4 separate regions of the Homo sapiens genome follow, and all the other regions are linked to region 1. The links are contacts of gene promoters, found by promoter capture Hi-C in blood cells and fetal thymus (Javierre and others, 2016). All regions are on one chromosome and are shown on one strand. The core of a region is centred on a gene start or on the middle of the fragment in contact, and the rest is flanking DNA. Distances in the headings are between cores, read along the strand shown. Region 1 holds the start of HSD17B4 (hydroxysteroid 17-beta dehydrogenase 4). Region 2 overlaps DMXL1 (Dmx like 1). Region 3 overlaps DMXL1 (Dmx like 1). Region 4 has its middle 96 kb from the start of MIR5706.

What was found. Contacts are between HindIII fragments. The CHiCAGO score rates a contact against its expected background, and 5 or more counts as called.
Region 2: a fragment that was not itself captured here is called in contact with the fragment with the promoter of HSD17B4 in region 1 in 4 of 17 cell types (naive B cells, activated CD4 T cells, total B cells and 1 more); the score reaches 5.8 in naive B cells.
Region 3: a fragment that was not itself captured here is called in contact with the fragment with the promoter of HSD17B4 in region 1 in 5 of 17 cell types (total B cells, naive B cells, total CD8 T cells and 2 more); the score reaches 14.2 in total B cells.
Region 4: a fragment that was not itself captured here is called in contact with the fragment with the promoter of HSD17B4 in region 1 in 1 of 17 cell types (non-activated CD4 T cells); the score reaches 5.0 in non-activated CD4 T cells.

The regions. Positions count from the first base shown.
Region 1 is chr5:119,451,203-119,453,775 of GRCh38, reverse strand. HSD17B4 (hydroxysteroid 17-beta dehydrogenase 4) reads right to left here and starts at 1,279. Exons shown (of 24, transcript NM_000414.4): 1 at 1,143-1,279. The coding sequence starts at 1,200. RefSeq lists an enhancer at 1,129-1,178. The HindIII fragment of the contact is 7,394 bases long and covers 1-2,573 here.
Region 2 is chr5:119,199,232-119,201,804 of GRCh38, reverse strand. The region is part of intron 32 of DMXL1 (Dmx like 1); the gene reads right to left. Among named protein-coding and RNA genes, the nearest start is that of MIR5706, 46 kb to the right of the region's middle. The HindIII fragment of the contact is 1,322 bases long and covers 645-1,966 here.
Region 3 is chr5:119,218,884-119,221,456 of GRCh38, reverse strand. DMXL1 (Dmx like 1) reads right to left here. Exons shown (of 44, transcript NM_001290321.3): 36 at 864-985; 37 at 376-517. Among named protein-coding and RNA genes, the nearest start is that of MIR5706, 66 kb to the right of the region's middle. The HindIII fragment of the contact is 279 bases long and covers 1,140-1,418 here.
Region 4 is chr5:119,249,359-119,251,931 of GRCh38, reverse strand. No RefSeq gene overlaps it. Among named protein-coding and RNA genes, the nearest start is that of MIR5706, 96 kb to the right of the region's middle. The HindIII fragment of the contact is 941 bases long and covers 833-1,773 here.

The sequences.
Region 1 (2,573 bases), core at 30-2,529:
TGCCCATGCAGAGATAACCAGACAGCTATGGGTATAAAATACTTGGCTATTCATCAACACTGAAAGCATTTTCTGAAAGGCAGCATAAGAAGCCACTTTATCAATACAGATATGAAAGTACATAGGAATTAATTGACAGAATTCCAGTTTGTAACGTTTAATATATAACTCAAATAATTCATGCATTAGGGCCTTTCCAGGTATAAGGTACTACCAGTGGAGAATCAAAGGTGCATAATGTCAAGATCCCTGCACTTGGAGGTTACAGAGGTCACCCACTGGTGAGAAACTAATGTAAAATCTCACTGCACAGCATCTATGTTGGTATGAATGGTTTGTTTTAATTTTTTGTACTTTAAAAAATGGGGCTATTTCACATAACAATTTTCCATTTTGCCGCTCCTGAAATACAGGCAACTTTCCCACTGGCCGGTCCACTTCGGAATTCTCTGCTCTCCAGTTCCTCAGATGTGCCCATCCTACTCCCATTTTCTTTCTCCATCATACGCCTGACCCCTGTGCGCATTTGAGCTTACAACCTCTGCCAAGACTCCAGTGGATTTCGAGAACAGATTGTGACTTGCTAAGCATACAAACTCCAACGGGGAAGGGCTCTTATCAGACGCCCTCTTTAAAGAAGGTCCTCTCACGAACTTAAAATCTTACGACAGAGGGAAACAAACACTGAACGACCGAATGACTTTTCAGGAGCTGACATCTCTGCGCTTCAGGGGGCGAATTCCAGCCCCCGCCCCTCGCGGCTTTTCAGTCCTTTAAAAGACTAGGCAAAGATCTAAGAGAGTTAATTGCAGGAAGAGTAACAATCGATGCCCACAGATAAGGGTCAGGGAGAACTTTCACCCAGTTTTGCAATCAGCAGCCCAGCCTGGCCTCTCCTCTCAGGCAGGACCTTGGGAAGCCCACACCGGGGTGCTGGGGAGAAGCGGGCTGTACCTGCTTGAGAGACCAGGTGTTTCCGGCTCTTTCCTCCTCAAGAGATGCGGTGCCTCAAGAATAACCATTCCCCTCCCCACCACCTCAGCGGGGTGACCTCAGCTGCGGCTGCGCGCGTATGCCGGCCCGAAAAGAGCAGCCAGCTGCGCCTCAGCAAGGGGCGCGGCCTCCAACCTTCGCATGCTCACCTGCCCCCGCGCCGGTGACCAGTACCACCCGCCCGTCGAACCTCAGCGGTGAGCCCATGAATAAGGCCTGCAACGACACACACACGAACAAGCAGAGCCGCTGGACGCCGACTGCGGGACAGGAGGAGGCGGGGAATGGCGGGGGCGGGACGAGGGTCAGTGACTTGCCGATTTCTGGTAGGAAGATGAGCGCAGAGCGCGCGGCTCCCTTGGAATCCTGGGAAATGTAGTTAAGAGTGACTCCACTCGCTGGAAGACTTGCCTTCCAGGGGCCATTTCTGCGGCTGGAAGCAATGGGAGCTGCTAGGACTTGTGTAGAAGAATAGTTAACTCGACACCTTGCGTTCATCTATTCACCTGTCGTTTCATCATTCACTCAATAAACGTTTTCTGGGTTTAGTTGCTGACCTAGAGAAACAGCATGCGGCCCCTATCCTTGAGGGGCTTCCAGAGATAGCCCCTGGGAAGGAAAGTCCCCCTTAGGGATGGTAAAGATTTGTCAGTGTAATAATCCCTGCACTTCTACATGCAAACATCAGGGGACTGTCAAAATGCAGAGTCCTGGACCCCCACTGCTTACCTCCCAAAATAGAATCTCAAGGGGCAAAAACATTTTGACAAGTGTTCCTAAATGATCTTGCGTTTGTATGTTGAGAACAGTCATAGTTCAATCAACATTTACTGAGCATCTCCTGAGTTTTGATAGGATCCTCAAGCTACTCAGAGTCAGATGGTAAACTTTCAATAACGGTGCAGCCTAGACTTGTGACCAATGTGTGTAAGTGAGCTAATGGTGTCAAAATAAACAGACCCTATCCCCGCTGGGGAGAAAGAGGAAAAACTTTCTGAAGGAGGACCAGGACCTAAAGTGGCGACCCCTGCAAAGAAAGAAGGGCATTACAGGCAGCACAAACACTAGCTAGGTTTGGGGAGAAAGAGGGTAAAGCCACAAAAGCAAAGCCAGCAAGATCATGTTTAGATGTTTGAATTTTGTGCTGAAAACGGTTTTAAGTAGGATTACTCCAGAGAGTGGTGGGAACACATTTACACTATGGAAAGATCACTTTGCCCATTATGGAGGATTGATTGGATGTTGCGGGAAGTCATGGACCCCAAACAGAGGGACCTGCTAGAGCCGCAGCAGAGGAACATAAATTGTGAAGATTTCACGGACATTTATCAGTTCCCAAATAATACTTTTATAATTTCTTATGCCTGTCTTTACTTTAATCTCTTAATCCTGTTATCTTCGTAAGCTGAAGGTGTACGTCACCTCAGGACCACTGTGATAATTGTGTTAACTGTACAAATTGATTGTAAAACATGTGTGTTTGAACAATATGAAATCAGTGCACCTTGAAAAAGAACAGAATAACAGCAATTTTTAGGGAACAAGGGAAGTCAACCATATGGGCTGACTGCCTGCGGGGT
Region 2 (2,573 bases), core at 56-2,555, 250 kb after region 1:
ACACCCTCCCAAGACTGAACCTGGAAGAAATGATTCCCTGACCAAACTAATAATGAGCTCTGAAATTCAATCAGTAATGAATAGCATACCAACCAAAAAAGGCATAGAACCAGATGGATTCGCAGCCAAATTCTACGAAATGTACAAAGAAAAGCTGGTACCATTCATACTAAAACTATACCAAAAAACTGAGGAGGTGGAACTCCTTCACACCTAATTCTATGAAGTCAACATTATCCTGATACCAAAACCTGGCAGAAGTAACAACAAAAAAAACAAAACTTCAAGCCAATATCCTTGATGAATGTCAACACAAAAATCCTCAACAAAATACTTGCAAACCAAACCCAGCAGCACATCAAAAAGCTAATTCACCATGATCAAGTAGGCTTCATTCCCAGGATGCAAGTTTGGTTCAACATATGCAAATCAACAAATGTGATGAATCACATAAACAGAACTAAAGACAAAAACCACATAATTATATCAATAGATGAAGAAAAGGCTTTTGATAAAATTCAACATCAATCCATGTAAAAACTCTCAATAAGCTAGGTATTGAAAGAACATACTTCAAAATAGTAAGAGCCATCTATGACAAACCCACAGCCAACATCATACTGAATGGGCAAAAGCAGGAAGCTTTCTCCTTGAAAACCAACACAAGACAAGGATGCTTTGTCTCACCACTCCTATTCAACCTAGTATTGAAAGTCCTGGCCAGAGCAAGCAGGAAAGAGGAAGAAATAAAAGGCATCCACATAGGAAGAGAGGAAGTAAAACTATGCCTGTTTGTAGATAACATGATTCTATATCTAGAAAACCCCATGTCTCAGCCCAAAAGCTCCTAGATCTGATAAACAACTTAGCAAAGTTTCAGGATACAAAAATCAGTGTACAAGAAATCACTAGCATTCCTATACACCAACAACAGCTAAGCTGAGAGCCAAATCAGGAAGGCAGCCCCATTCACAACTGCCACAAAAAGAATAAAATACCTAGGAATACAGCTAACCAGGAGGTGAAAGATCTCTACAATAATTACAAAACACTGTGCAAAGAAATCAGATAAGACACAAACAAATGGAAAAAACATCCCATGTTCATGGAGAAGAAGAATCAATATCATTAAACTGGCCATATTGCCCAAAGCAATTTACAGATTCAATGCTATTCCTAACAAACCACCACCAACATTCTTCACAGAACTAGAGAAACCTATTTTAAAATTAATATGGAACGTAAAAAGAGCCTGAATAGCAAGGCGATCCTAAGCAAAAAGAACAAAACTGGAATCACATTACCTGATTTCGATGTATGCTACAAAAACACAGTAACCAAAACAGAACAGTATTGGTACAAAAACAGGCACATTGACCACTGGAACAGAATAGAGAACTGGGAAGTAAGGTGACACGCCTCTGGCCATCTGATCTTTGACAAAGCTGACAAAAACAAGCAATCAAGAAAAGACTCCCTATTCTATAAATGGTGCTGGGATAACCGGCTAGCCAAATGCAGAAGATTGAAACTGAATGCCTTCCTTGCAACATACACAAAAATCAACTCAAGATGGATTAAAGACTTACATGTAAAACCAAAAGCTACAAAAATTTTAGCAAACAACCTAGGCAATACCACCCCGGACACAGGAACAGGCAAAGATTTTATGACAAGGACCCCAAAAGGAATTTCAACAAAAGCAAAAATTGACAAATAGGATCTAATTAAACTTAAGAGCTTCTGCAAAACAAAAGAAACTATCAACAGAGTAAACAGACAACCTACAGAAATGGGAGAAAATACTTTCTATGTACCTGATAAAGGTCTAATATCCAGCATCTATAACGAACTTCAACCAATTTAAAAAAGAAAAACAAACACCACCATTAAAAAGTGGGCAAAGGACATGAACAGACACTTTGCACAAGAAGACGTACGTGCCAATAAGCCTAAGAAAAAAGCTTAATATAACTGATCATTTGAGAAAAGCAAATCAAAAGCACAATGAGATACCATCTCACACCAGTCAGAATGGTTATCATTTAAAAATAACAGATTATTTATAAAAAATAACAGATGCTGGGAAGGTTGCAGAGAAAAGGGAACACTTACGCACTGTCAGTGGGAGTGTAAATTACTTCAATCATTGTGGAAAGCAGTATGGCGATTCCTCAAAGAGCTAAAAACAGAACTATCATTTGACCTAGCAAACCCATTACTGGGTATATACCTAGGGTAATATAAATCATTCTACCATAAAAAACACATGCACACAAGTGTTCGCTGCAGCATTATTCACAATAGCAAAGAAATGGAACCTAAACGCTCATCAGTGACAGACTGGATAAAGAAAATCTGGTACAGATACAAGAAATACTATGTAGCCATAAAAAAGAATGAGATCACATCTTTTGTGGGAACATGGATGGAGCTGGAGGTTACTATCCTTAGCAAACTAGCACAAGAACAGAAAACCAAACACTGTATGTTCTCACTTATAAGTGGGAACTAAATGTTGAGAACTCATGAACACAAAGAAGGGAACAACAGACAGTGGGGTCTACTTGAGG
Region 3 (2,573 bases), core at 30-2,529, 230 kb after region 1:
AACAATGTATAAACCATTTCACTAAAATGTATACACCATTCTTAGCATATTAGCTATATAAAAACAGGTCATGGGTAATATTTGATCTATGGGGAACACCTTGCTGAAGCCTGATCTGAACCATGTTTCAAATAATTCTTAATTAAAATATAGCTCTTTGGTTTTCAAGCAAAGTATATTTTTAAAACAATTTATTATTACCCTTTCAAATGAAAACATACTAGTCTTCATTATCAAAATTTACAATTTCCAACATGTAAGACTTACTAAAACTTTAGGAATTAAGAAAAATGTTTTAAATCATCCTTTATCCATTAACCTAGAGGGAAAAATAAAAGTTACATATAACTTAAATTTATTTTTAACTTTACATACCACAGATGCTCCTCTGCCAGTCTGTGTACTACCAAGCCATGGCATGTTGATTGGAGTGCCAGGATTGCTATGTGTATATGGAGTTGTACCTTGAACAGCTGTTAAATCATCACGAGCATGTATAACCAAGAAATCTTCTGATCTATAAAGGAATGTCAACCAGAATAAAAACAACTCATCATTTCTTTCTTTTTTACACTTGAAAGGTCTAAAATTTGAATTTATAGTTCCCTTTAAAATTAATTTTCTTCAGCTCTTATTTGTAACTCACACACAATGACCTCATACCTCAACAATTTCTGTTCCCTTCACTTACTCTTCTCTCAGTTCCCTTATTTAAAGCTCTTGCCACCCCTCATTTAGCACATCAGCTTCTACTCTGCTTACAATCTATACATTGCTTTAAAGAATCTTTTGAAAGTTTTAGTTCAGTAAATATAGTCACTCATATTGCAACATTACTAAATAGAAACAAACTATGAAGGTACCCTTTGGTTTCCACTTCTATATCATCATCTACCCAAGTGTAGACCTGTGTGGCCAGAATTCCAGAAACATCCAGTTCTTGAACATCATGACTGGAAGCGATTGCTATGCAGTTTCTATTTGCCTGAAAAATAAGTCAAATGGTAATTTTAAAAGCAATAGGCAAAAGAGATAGTATATGAGCTGCTTTTGAAAATGGTAGTTTTGAAATAACCTCTAGCAGTGATAACTAAAGTACAGGATATACAGCATTCTTACTTTTAGTGAAATAATAAGCTTCAGTTTGGAGATACGTTTATGTTCTATGAAAAGTACATCCAATAGAAAGCCAGTATAAATGGCAATACATGCAGCATTTTATTTCCTCTCCCAGTACTGTTTTTCTAGACTGCTAGAATGCTATGATCGCTCTAAGGTATGCACAATTCAGAAATGTGGAGGAAGATGCTGAAAAAGATAGGAACCTGTAGGGTACAGAAAGGTGAGGGCAATAAGGAACTCCAAACTAAAAACATAATTATTAATTATTTAAATAAAACAAACTTTCTCCTAAAGCTTTTCAATCTTAGGCAAAAAAAAAAAAAAGAAGTGGGAAAGGGTCACAGAAAAAAGGTGTAGGGGCAGAAATATAGTGGGAGAAGTATGCCAGAAAAAGATCACAAATGAAAAGTTGCTAAGGTTAAATGACATGAAATTTTAAATGCCTATGAATCAAAAATGTACATCTTGGCTGGGGGCAGTGGCTCACGTCTATAATCCTAGCACTTTAGGAGGCTGAAGCAGGCAGACAGCTTGAGCTCAGGAGTTCGATAGTAGCCTGGGCAACATGGCAAAACACTGTCTCTACAAAAAATACAAAAATTAGTTGGGCATGGTGGCATGCACCTGCAGTCCCAGCTACTTGGGAGAATGAGGTGAAACGATTGCTTGAGCCCAGGAGGTCGAGGCTGCAGTGAGCTGACATTGCACCACAGCACTGGGCACCAGGCATGATACCCTGTCTCAATAAATAAATAAATAAATAAATTAATTAATTAATTAAATGTGTATCTTTGAAACAGAAAACAGGAAGATATTGACAGCAAAGAGAAAATAGGATTACCATTACTGTTATGTTAGATTTTAACACAAACTATTAAGAAAAAACTGAGACCTTAGAAATAAATGAAAAAATGATATAGCTAGATTATTGGGTGGTTATTCTCCATGGGTATCCCAAATTCTGCATGTTTTATAAGTGAGTCATGTCTGCCCTTTTTTCTGCAGTATAATTGCCAGGATGTTTGTATAACTATCGTCTCTCCCTCCAGAGCAAAGGGCAAGTATGCTTACTATCGATTATAAAAGATTTGGGTCCCCTAAACTCAGAGATCCTCTCCTGTAATATAACCTACTATGTGTGTAGGTAAGGTAGGTATCATCTGGCCCTCTTCCCGTCATTCTCTGGAAATTGTGGCTCAGGCAACCAGTGTAAAGTGCTGATTTTCTGGTTATTGCTTTTGCTGTTAGACATAAACTGTCCTTTGTCTCTGATCCAAGAGTCGTATGTCTTCTAACAGCATCCACTAAAATGTTTAATGGATCAATTAAATGGACTGTTTAAACAATCCACTGCCTGCCTCAAACAGAACTGTTTCTGTGGCAACAGAAACAGAAAGCTAACTGTTAGTTTTAATTTAAGGTAAAATCTGAGACCCTTCATAGTTTTTGAC
Region 4 (2,573 bases), core at 54-2,553, 200 kb after region 1:
TAAAACTTATTTAACGTATGTCCAGGGATACACCATACTGGCTGAGTTCTGTTACACAGGTCATACCTGTACATTGCATAGAAAATTGATTGTCCATGAATAAAGCATTTTTTCCACTGTGGAGTGAAATGTGTTGTCACACCAATTGTTTCTATTAGTCATCTGTATTTGCAGTGGAAGAACTTAAAAGTGTTTTTGTTCCAAGGACCCCTGTGAAACAATGTGACACTCTCAGTGTTAGTTCCTTGAGTAATGGACCATATATGTGCAATGACAGCCAAGCAGAAAGAAAAAACATCTTGAAAAGCTCAAAAACAGATTCAGCTTTGAAAATAACTGGACTGAAATCTACACACATTTCTAGAATACTAACAGGCACATTCAAATAATCTATGATCAACTTTTTCCAGGTACTCCAATGCAGCAATCCCCAACCCTTTTGGCACCAGGGACTGGTTTCGTGGGAAGACAGTTATTCCATGGAGCCAGATGGTTTCAGGATGATTCAAGCGCATTACACGTATTGTGCAGTTTATTATTACATTGTAATATATGATGAAATAATTATACAACTCACCATGACATAAAATCAGTGGGAGTCTTGAGCTTGTTTTCCTACAACTGGATGGTCCCATCTGGGGGTGATGGGAGACAGTGACAGATCATCAGGCATCACTCTCATAATGAGCACACAACCTAGATCCCTTGCATGCGCAGTTCACAGTAGGGTTCCTGCTCCTATGAGAATCGAATGCCTCCACTGATCTGACAGGAGGCGGAGCTCAGGTGGTAATGCAAGCAATGGGGAGCAGCTATAAATACACATGAAGCTTTGCCCAACACTCACCTCCTGCTGTGCAACCCGGTACCAGTTGTCACCCATGGGCTGGGGACTCCTGCTCCAAAGGGTAACATTTTAACATTCAGCTTAAATAAATTTCACCAAAAATATCTCAACAATTCAAAGAGGAGTGTTCCTGACACCAGATCACTTTATTCAACAGAGCAGCTCCCAAAGTCATGAAGTACTACTTGGTTTAAAAATAAAGCTGTTTTTCCCACGTACACACATTCAACAAAACTATCTTTGGTATTACTTTACTGAGTGAGGTTTAAAGGAGTTTGGGAAAATATTACAGCCTTCTTCCTTTTCCCAATGCTAAAAGTTTTGTGTATTTTTTCCACATGCATTTCTTTGTTCATATATATTTTAAAAAGTCTAAACAATTAGGATATTGTATCTTTTGCTCTGTAATTTTTTTTCCTCATCAGCCTCTTCTCAGGCCAACATATACATATCTAACATTCTTTTTAGTGGTGAGAGAATATTCTATAATATTACATGTATGTACCATAATTTATTCAACCATTTACTTGCTAATTAACATTTAGATTTCCAGTTTTTTTTTTTTTTTTTTTTTCATTTTTATTTTTTGAGACAGACTTTTGCTCTGTCACCCAGGCTGGAGTGCAGTGGCATGATCTCGGCTCACTGCAACCTCCACCTCCTGGGTTCAAGTGGTTCTCCTGCCTCAGCCTCCTGAGTAGCTGGGACTACAGGCACACAACCCCATACTCCACTAATTTTTGTATTTTTAGTAGAGATGGGTTTCACCATGTTGGCCAGGCTGGCCACAAACTCCTGACCTCAAGTGACCTGTGCTTGCTTCAGCCTCCTAAAGTGCTGAGATTACAGGTGTGAGCCAACACATCTGGCCTCTAGAATATGTTTCAATAAACATCTGTGTCCTTACATTTTTATGCATGGAAGCTTTTATTTTTATAATTTCTCAGAAGGTTGTTCACTGAAAGTTATGTGTATTTGATTTTAATTCACACCCAGATAACTTTGCCAGCAATGTTTCTGCCAATTTCCTTGCATCTTCACCAAAATGGATATTGTCACTATTTAACCTTAAACCAATCTGATAAAAACTAGTATTACAGTAATACTTTTTAAAAAACAATCCATTAACCCTTATAATGAAGATGAACACACTTTATATTTGTTGACTTTTTCAATGTCCTGTTCTGTGAATTGCTTATTCACAGTGTGACCACTTCTCCAATAACTTAAACTTCTCTTTGTATACAGGGACACTGACATGTTTCCTATTACTATACAAATATTTCTTCTAGTCTACTTGTTGTTTTAACTTTGACTGTGGTCCCTGCCATATGACATTTAAATTTTTTATTAAGTAAAATATGTCTGTGTTTCCAATCTTGTTAAAAAGATCACTTCCACCCTAAGGTTGTATAGACTTTTCTTTGAATGTGTCTTTGTATTGTGTTTCCATTGTTGGGACCAATGTGAGAAATTTCTGCAATTCTTCTAAAAAATATTTTTTTTTTCAAAGAAGGGAGGGCAAGGGCAAAGAGCAAGAAAGGAGGATGGAGATGACTGGTCCATGGTTTTAGTTAAGAAAAATCCTAGATATCAGAAAATAAGATTTGTTAATGTTGTGAATCCTTATATGATCACAAAGCCACATTCTTAGGAAACACACAATTAAAAAATGTATTTTGATGTATCCACTCCATTAATGTGGATAATGAAATTTTACATATAT